2 separate regions of the Homo sapiens genome follow, and region 1 is linked to region 2. Evidence: promoter capture Hi-C in human tissues and cell types (Jung and others, 2019). All regions are on one chromosome and are shown on one strand. Each heading gives the region's core, a stretch centred on a gene start or on the middle of the fragment in contact. The rest is flanking DNA. Distances are from core to core; before and after follow the strand shown.

Region 1 (4,377 bases), core at 255-2,754, 330 kb after region 2:
ATACTGGGCCCCCTTCCCAACCACATTCCCCTTCCCTTCGTCTTTTCTGGCAGAGCACATATCCCTATAAAGAGGCTGAAAATGCCAGTCACCTGCTTTCCCAGCCTCCCTCGCAGCTGGAACACAGACGTGTGACCAATCCTGGCCAATGAGACCAGAGGAGGAGCAGCTGGGGGCTTCTGGGAAAAGTTTCCTTTCCCTCTTTTTTGTTGGGTGAAATTGTGTCCACTTGTAACAACTGCTAGATGTGGAAGCCATTTTGCACCATGAGCGGAGACACTCCTAATTCTCAGAAGATCGCAGAAAGAAGTCTATGGAAAATACCTGTGACCTTGAGGAGGCTGCTGAGCTACTGCAGCATCTCAAGGGCTTCTCCGTCTCTAGACATCTTCCTACATAAAATAATAAATGTCCTATTGGGTTAAGCTGGTGTTTTTCACACTGTGGGTTGCACTCCATTAATGAGACATGAGATTATATTAGTGGGTCATGATTAGCATTTCTAATAGAATTAAAATAGGAAAGAATAGACAAAAATATTAGGTAGCATCACATAAAGTAAAGGTAAGTGCTGCTTGTGAAAATTTGCTTCAGTTTATACTCTTGCATATGTGCTAAGGGACAATTTAAAATGCGTTTTTTTACTATGCACTGAGAGTTTTTTGAAAGCAAAGCTTAAAACTTGTTTCAGTTAAAGATTCTGTTCCTTGCAGACAAATGCATTATGTCCCATAGAGGTATCCTTCAGCAACCCCAAAAACTTCCACTCTCACCATGTGAGTTGTTTACTGACCAAGAGACCATTGCATTTGCTGTCTAAATCATTTATGGCAGATGTATTCAGTACTGTCATTACATAACTTAATTAAATATTATGCCAACGAATGAAATAAGAGCATTAAAGAAACATTGCTGTTTCTAAGTTGACCACTTTGGAAAGAATCAATAAAGGCAAGTCTCAGAAAACATATCTGTTGGATGGAGGTGAGGAGAAAACTCCAAACAACTGGCAACAAGAGCCACAAAATTCTAGAAAGATTATGCACTTGTATTAATTCATACATATTTTGTTTCACTTTAAAGAAAAAAGATACAGAACTTTATTCTGCAAAGTCAGACGCCACAAAAGACTCTTTCCTACATCACACTATTGGTGACTGAATGTATATGTGAATATTTTCAGTAAAAATAAACTGTGTAAAAGTCATATAGGTATTGTTCTTATAATTTCTTATTGTAACAAAGTTTTTTTTTGATTGACTGCCTACCTTTCCATATCATATTTCACATGGAGCTCTGTGCACAATTGTATGATGTCTCTATTCTACAATTGATTGTAAACTCCACAAGAGCAGAAAACATGACCATCTTGTTCATCACTTTATACTCTGGCACAGTACTGGGTACATAGAAGATTCTTAATAGATATTATTCAAGTGTATAATTAACAAAAGAAATGAACAAGAAAACCCATTAAGTATTACCTCACTTTACTCTCAAAAAAGCCTTGTCAAGTGTGGCAATTCCTCAAGGATCTAGAACTAGAAATACCATTTGACCCAGCCATCCCATTACTGGGTATATACCCAAAGGATTACAAATCATGCTGCTATAAAGACACATGCACACGTATGTTTATTGCGGCACTATTCACAATAGCAAAGACTTGGAACTAACCCAAATGTCCATCAATGATAGACTGGAAAGCATAATAATAATAATAATAAAAAGAAAGTAAAAGAACTCACAAAATTAAGCATACAATCCCCACCGCAAAAAGTGTTGGAATAGGTATATTAATATTAGACAAAGCAGGTTTTAAAAAACATGTATTATAAAAGACTAGAGAAATATTTCATAATAGTAAAAGGGTAAATTCAGCAGGATAGACATATGTCAATAATAATAAATGAATCTGATTGCATAACTTCAAAAAAAAAAAGAAAATGTGGCACATATACACCATGGGATACTATGCAGCCATAAAAAAGGATGAGTTCATGTCCTTTGTAGGGACATGGATGAAGCTGAAAACCATCATTCTCAGCAAACTATCACAAGGACAAAAAACCAAACACTGCATGTTCTCACTCATAGGTGGGAATTGAACAATGAGAATACTTGGACACAGGAGGGGGAACATCACACACCGGGGCCTGTCGTGGGGTAGAGGGAGGGGGGAGGGATAGCACTGGGAGATATACCTAATGTAAATGTAAACAAACCTGCACATTGTGCACATGTACCCTGGAACTTAAAGTATAATAATAAAAAAAAAACCTTGTCAAATAGAGAGGAGTTTTATATTTGTATCTTAAAACTGGAGAGGAATTAGTTGTGGTTCAGAAAAGCAAACTGACGTCAGTCACACTACTAGTACCAAGAACCCACCACCCACTACCCACTACCCGTAAAGCCAAGCCCCCAGAATTCTTAGCTCATGGAATTATTCTGCTGCAAGAAGGTTATGACATGAGGCCATGACATTACCAAAGATTCCTTACTGCATTTTCACTCCCAGGGCTATGATTTTGAAATTCCTTTGGAATTCTGCAGAGAATTCTGAGTTTTGTGAGTTTAATTAACATTTTGAGTGTTATTGGTGAAGTTTTATCAGAGAATCGCTTTTTTTTTTTTTTTTTTTACATGTAAGTCTACAGCCAGAGGCCAGTATTTGGATCCCCAGAGAATGTTTCCAATTTTATGGTAGGAATTGATGGGAAAAGATTATTTTTTACAGAAATTCACCTGACAGCAGAATTTCCTGGGTCACATCTCTTCAGTTAAGTAGAAGATTCCTGATTCTGAACAGTCAAACAATTTAATACCAACTGTCAACTAGCATTGAAGATTTTTATGTCCTTAGTTCAGCTTTGTGCTTGACCTTTCTTGTGCACCTCCCTTTTTTATTCTGGGACATTAATGGTTGTTTATAAAAGAAAACATATAATAAAATTGTAAAATCTGTTTATTCATGTATATATGCTCAAAAATGTGTCAAGGCATGAGGAAGTCTTCTAGGGTACGGGACAAATTCTATGTCTTGACCTGGGTATTGGTTACCCAGGGTATACATTAAAAGACCATTGAGCCACTTAAGATCCATATGCTTTACTGTATGTAAGACGCACCTAAATAAAAAGATTTTTTAAAATGTGTCTGGCTTTAATCTTACAGAGAGCCAAAACTTGATAGATGTAACTAGTACATCCTACAGTAAATCAGTTCAAACCTACAAACATTTATTAAGGGCTTACTATGTACAAGGCACTGTGCTGGACCATGAATAGGACAGAATGTAATGATGATACTAATTATAAATGATTCTTGATACACGATGAGCCCTCAAGAGATGTTGTGGAATAAAAGAATGACTTAATTAATCACTAGCACAGGTAGAGGGGCTAATTTTATTTTATTTTTTTTTTTATTTATTTTTGAGACAGAGTCTTGCTCTGTTGCCCAGGCTAGAGGGCAGTGGTATGATCTTAGCTCACTGCAACCTCCACCTCCTGGGTTCAAGTGATTCTCTTGCCTCAGCCTCACTAGTAGCTGAGATTACAGGCATGCACTACCATGCCCAGATAACTTCTGTATTTTTAGTAAAAATGGTGTTTTACCATGTTGGCCAGGCTGGTCTCAAACTCCTGACCTCAAGTGATCCACCCACCCCAGCCTCCCAAAATACTGGGATTACAGGCATGAGGCACACCCAGCCAAGAGGCTAATTTTAAATAGGAACAGAGATGTACTGTCTCCTGATGCTGAAAAAAGGAAGATAAAGCTGTGTGCATCTTTTTTTTCATAGTTTCTGTCACGTTGCAGTTAGGCACTCACCTAACCACCCTCTTACTTAGGGAGCTTCCCTGGATTAAGAAACTCTCTCTAGTCTCTCCCTCTGGGTAACGTGAAACTGATGCCCAGAGCAGGCTGAGCACTCATGCCTGCCAGGCCTCAATGCTCTTCATACTGGGCCCTCTTCCCAACCACATTCCCCTTCCCTTCGTCGTTTCTGGCAGAGCACATATCCCTATAAAGAGGCTGAAAATGCCAGTCACCTGCTTTCCCAGCCTCCCTTGCAGCTGGAGCACAGATGTGTGACCAATCCTGGCCAATGAGACCAGAGGAGGAGCAGCTGGGGGCTTCTGGGAAGTTTCCTTTCCCTCTTTTTTGTTGAGTGCAATTGTGTCCACTTGTAACAAGTGGACTCTATGCCCCCAGGGAGTGAGACGTTGTTGCATAATGGTTACATAGTTTCTGTTTGGGGTGATGGAAAGTTTTGAAAATAAATCATGGTGATGGTTGCACAACATCGTGAATGTAATCAATACCATTGAACTGTACACTTGAAAACCATTAAAATGGAAAATTTTATGT
Region 2 (4,522 bases), core at 1,555-4,054:
TACCCTTAAGCCATTGATGGCTACTTAATTTCCTGTGAAGGCCTGGTCAAGCACATTGCCTGTTTTCACCCTCATCTCTTGCCACACTCTCCCTGGCTAACCCTGCCAGTCGCCTAGCCTTTTTCCACTGGAGGCACTTTGCATCTTTTACCTGGAATATTCCTTTGCATGGCTATCTACTGTCTTTGGGTCTTGGCCTTAATGTTACCAAGAGGTCTTCTGGCTTCTCTATCCCACTGGTTTCTCTCAAAACACTGGTAACAAGCCAGCATTTATCTCTTGGTGTATTTGCTTATTGCCCATCTTCCCTAGTGGAAACGAAGTGCTTTTTTAGTGCAGGGACCTTGCCTGTCTTTCAGTGAGGGCTCGACACTGTAGGATCTCAATAAATTGTGATTGAATTAGTAAGAAGTGACTACTAAAATAGTGGTATATATTAAGTGTTGTATGAACATGCCAAATCCAGATAGAACCCATTTAAGATTCAGGCATATGGTAAATAGGTCATGTTGGTAAATAGGTGCATGAAACTAGAGGGTGTGAGTGGTGGGGAAAAGAATGTGTAGTATAAAATGGATTTGGAGTCAAAAGACATTCTGACTAGATGCCTCTTCAACTGTAAATTGGAAATGATCCTGCCTCCCTACTTCATGAAATTGTTCAGAAAGAAATGTGAAAATAACCTGAAAGTAACCTGAATAATAATTAGGATTATTAGTTAGCAGCTAAAACGTTTGGAGTTTTCATTGTGTGCCAGACACTCATTGAGTACTCACAACTCTGTGAGAGTTGTTACTGTTCTTAGCCATATTTTGTAGAGGAGGAAGCAGAATCTCAAACCGTTGCTTGCTGGAATTTATAAGTAAATGTTGGTGGCAGTATTCAAATGCAGTACTTCTGACTCCTGAGTTTATGCTCTTACTCAGAACTGTTCTCTTGGCTGGACTTTTTGGTCAGTCTGATTTGTTTGGTAGGTGAGATTGGCAAATATACTTTGAGCATTGAAAAATACTGCAAGCATTTTAGATAGGGTATAAATAATTATATACCCATTCCATTCACAAGTAATAAAAAATAGTAACAATATAGAAAATTGGAAGCATGATTCTTAGCCAGGAGATACTTCAAACTAGCAGATGGTAAGCCAAAAACTCCTCGACTGGGTTTGTCAATCTTCCTATAAAGCAAGATCAAAGACGGCGGCAATGACTCGGGTCATCGGTGGGAGCATTTCTGTCCATTTCTATTTATGGTTGGTCATTGCATCCTATCTTGGGATCGATTCATTTTCTCCAGAACTTGGGAAGTTACGAGTAACTCTGCAAGTCCAGCTCTGGCAATCAGAATGTCTAAGTAAATTCAGCTTAAAAGCTTCATGCAGGAATTTTCCCCCTCAGCACCTGGTTTTGAAAAGGTTTTCTGCACTTGTGTCCGATGTTGAAACAGAGGCTATCTGTTTAAAATAGCCTCAGCTTTGAAAGGGAACTTAAAATAGCTTGCAAGGAGGCCTGATATTTGGAACAATTACTAATGTTTTATAGTCATGGCTTCAGCAAATAGCACTGTTCGACAGTCCTACCTCAGTTTATGCTCCAGTGGACCATCAACCATTGCCAACGCAAGGAGGCTTTAACCAAATAGTCCAGATTCCTGAGTTTTGCTTGAGCCTGTCCTCCAGCGTCTTTCTCACTGTGACCTATTTTCCTTAGCATCAGGCTCAAGCAGAGCTTGGCTGACACCAGCTCTAGACAGTGAGGCAGGTACGTGACAAGAACACCTACGTTTTGGGGTTGGTGGGAAGGACAGGAGTTATGCCTCTGGAAGGGGCAGAGGCGGTAAGAACCAGTGTCCTGAATGGGGCCCTGGTTAAAGGAACGAAGCTGCCTAGTATGCAAACGGAGGCAAGTCTTAGTCCGGTTTTGGGAGGAGGCCGGAAGAGGGCCTCAGCGTGGTCGCTGACCAGAGTCCTGCTGGCTGCTCCCCGGCGTGCAGCCGTCCGTGCTGGGGTTGCAGTGACGTCTCGGGGCCGCTTGGTGGTAGCCGTGTGTTTCCAAAGCTGGCTCGCCTACGGGAGAGTCCAGCTGGGATCCCGTGAACCGACCCCAGAGCCCCGGAGGGGGCGAGGGGTGGGAAGGAGAGATGCCCGGGAGCCCCCTTCGCAGCGGCAGGGACGTAAGAAGAGGACGGGGGCTCACTTAAGTGGGTAGCCAGTCAAGAGGGTGGCTGGGAAACTCCACGATCGCAGGGCGGGTAAAAGCGACCCCCATTCAGTGGAGCCGCCCCGGGGCTGGGTTTGACCCGCCCCTCTCGGCTCTCCACTAGAGCGCTGGTGAGTGAGTGCGAGTAGCGAATGTGGGCAGGTGAGGACGTTCCGTACCTAACTGCGTTCTTGGGGAGCATCGCCTGCCCAATTTGGGCAACGTTTGCGCGGAGGAGCGGTCACTGCGCTCGGGCGCAGAGCTCCGACGGCTTCCAGCGCTCACCAGCTTCAGTCTCGCGGGTCCTGCCCCTTTGGAGCTGCCGGTCCCGTCTCCGAGAGTCTGAGCGCCTCCCCTCCAACCCCGAGCCGCCAGGAGAAGGAGGAGGAGGCAGCGAGAGGCCGCGGCAGGCAGGCGAGCAGGCAGGGCCGCCTTTGATGTGGGCTGGGCGCACCCAGGCGAGCTGAGCGCCCGTCCGGCCGCGCCCCGAGGGGGGAGCCCCCAGGCCCCGCATCCTCATTGTGCCGGCTCGGGCCCGGGCCCGCCCCCGGCCCCCCGCCCCCTCGCCGCCCGCGCGTAGAAAACGCCCCGGCCGCCGCCAGTGGTGGGAGGCGGCGATGCGCACGGCCGGAGAGACGCGGAGGAGGAGACATGAGCCGGCGGGCGCCCAGACGGAGCGGCCGTGACGCTTTCGCGCTGCAGCCGCGCGCCCCGACCCCGGAGCGCTGACCCCTGGCCCCACGCAGCTCCGCGCCCGGGCCGGAGAGCGCAACTCGGCTTCCAGACCCGCCGCGCATGCTGTCCCCGGACTGAGCCGGGCAGCCAGCCTCCCACGGACGCCCGGACGGCCGGCCGGCCAGCAGTGAGCGAGCTTCCCCGCACCGGCCAGGCGCCTCCTGCACAGCGGCTGCCGCCCCGCAGCCCCTGCGCCAGCCCGGAGGGCGCAGCGCTCGGGAGGAGCCGCGCGGGGCGCTGATGCCGCAGGGCGCGCCGCGGAGCGCCCCGGAGCAGCAGAGTCTGCAGCAGCAGCAGCCGGCGAGGAGGGAGCAGCAGCAGCGGCGGCGGCGGCGGCGGCGGCGGCGGAGGCGCCCGGTCCCGGCCGCGCGGAGCGGACATGTGCAGGCTGGGCTAGGAGCCGCCGCCTCCCTCCCGCCCAGCGATGTATTCAGCGCCCTCCGCCTGCACTTGCCTGTAAGCGCCCGCGCGCGGGGCTGCCCACCTTGCCTGGCTGTCTGTCCGTATGCCTGTGCCCTGTACCTCTGTCTGCCCGCCCGTCGGTTCACCTGACTCTTCGACTGCGTGTCTGTCTGTCCGTGCGCCCCCTTCCTCAGGTCCCACTGACCGCTTCTCCATCTGTTTCCCGCAGGTGTTTACACTTCCTGCTGCTGTGCTTCCAGGTACAGGTACGTGGGCTCCTGACTTTGACCTCCTCCCGCCCCTGCCTCGCGGTACACGCCGACCCCCCTTCCCCGGCCGCGCCCCCTCCCTGTGCCCCACCCCTCCTGGGCGCTGAGCCCAGTGCACCTGTTCCCAGGGCGCGGAAGGGCGGCTCCGCGTGCGCCCTGCGCCGGCGGGGAACCGGCCAAGGGCAAGGGGCTCTGCCGCGGGGCCCGAGGAGGCGCTGGCTGTCGCGGCCACTGTCGGCCTCGGCTGGGAGGAGATCCCGCAGAGCCGGCGGGCTCAGCCGCAACAATATACCCAGCTCTAAGACCCCTGCCCGCAGCCAGCGAGGGGTAGGACCTAGGGATTTTCTCTGCCAACCTTCCCTTAACATCGCCGCTTCCAAACAAAAAGACTTTCAGCCGAGTGGATTTCGAGTCCAGGGAGAAAGCTTCAGTTGTAAATTACTCTGTGGTTTTGAAGGCGCTTGCAGCACTGAGACACACACACAGACACACACACATGCCCGGGACGAGGGGAAGCTCGAGGGCGCCTAGGCCGAGTGGCCGCTGCCCGCGAGGCCGCTCCCGGATGGGCCGCGCTCCGCACTCCCTCGCCTAAGGTGGTGCAGCCCTCGTTGGTTCCCCGCCTGCTCCCGGTTCGCTCGCTCTCCGTGAATCAGAAGAGGGCTTGGCGCTCGGCCTGGAAAGCACTTGCTAAAATCTGATCTGTTACTTCAGCAGCTTTCAGACTCGGGAAGGTCTTGGCACGCAGACAGTTGGAACGCTCTGGCTTCCAAAGCCGTAGAAATGAAGGAAAAAGGGTTGGGGGGAGGGAGAGAGAAGAGCGAAAAAGGGAGCCGACTTCAGCCCCGATTAGAACCAGACCAGGGCTGCCTCTGCATGGTGGGGGTCGGGGGGCGGCGGGCAAAGGGAATAGGAAGC

What was found. Contacts are between HindIII fragments. The study calls those that stand out against the background at their distance.
Region 1: a fragment that was not itself captured here is called in contact with the fragment with the promoter of FGF18 in region 2 in 2 of the 25 tissues and cell types used here (heart left ventricle and liver).

Annotation. Positions count from the first base shown.
Region 1 is chr5:171,751,498-171,755,874 of GRCh38, forward strand. No RefSeq gene overlaps it. Among named protein-coding and RNA genes, the nearest start is that of SMIM23, 32 kb to the right of the region's middle. The HindIII fragment of the contact is 6,329 bases long and covers 1-4,377 here.
Region 2 is chr5:171,416,843-171,421,364 of GRCh38, forward strand. It overlaps FGF18 (fibroblast growth factor 18), which reads left to right and starts at 2,805. Exons shown (of 5, transcript NM_003862.3): 1 at 2,805-3,389; 2 at 3,565-3,601. The coding sequence starts at 3,358. RefSeq lists silencers at 2,642-2,751, 2,872-2,981, 3,122-3,171, 3,232-3,311. The HindIII fragment of the contact is 5,522 bases long and covers 523-4,522 here.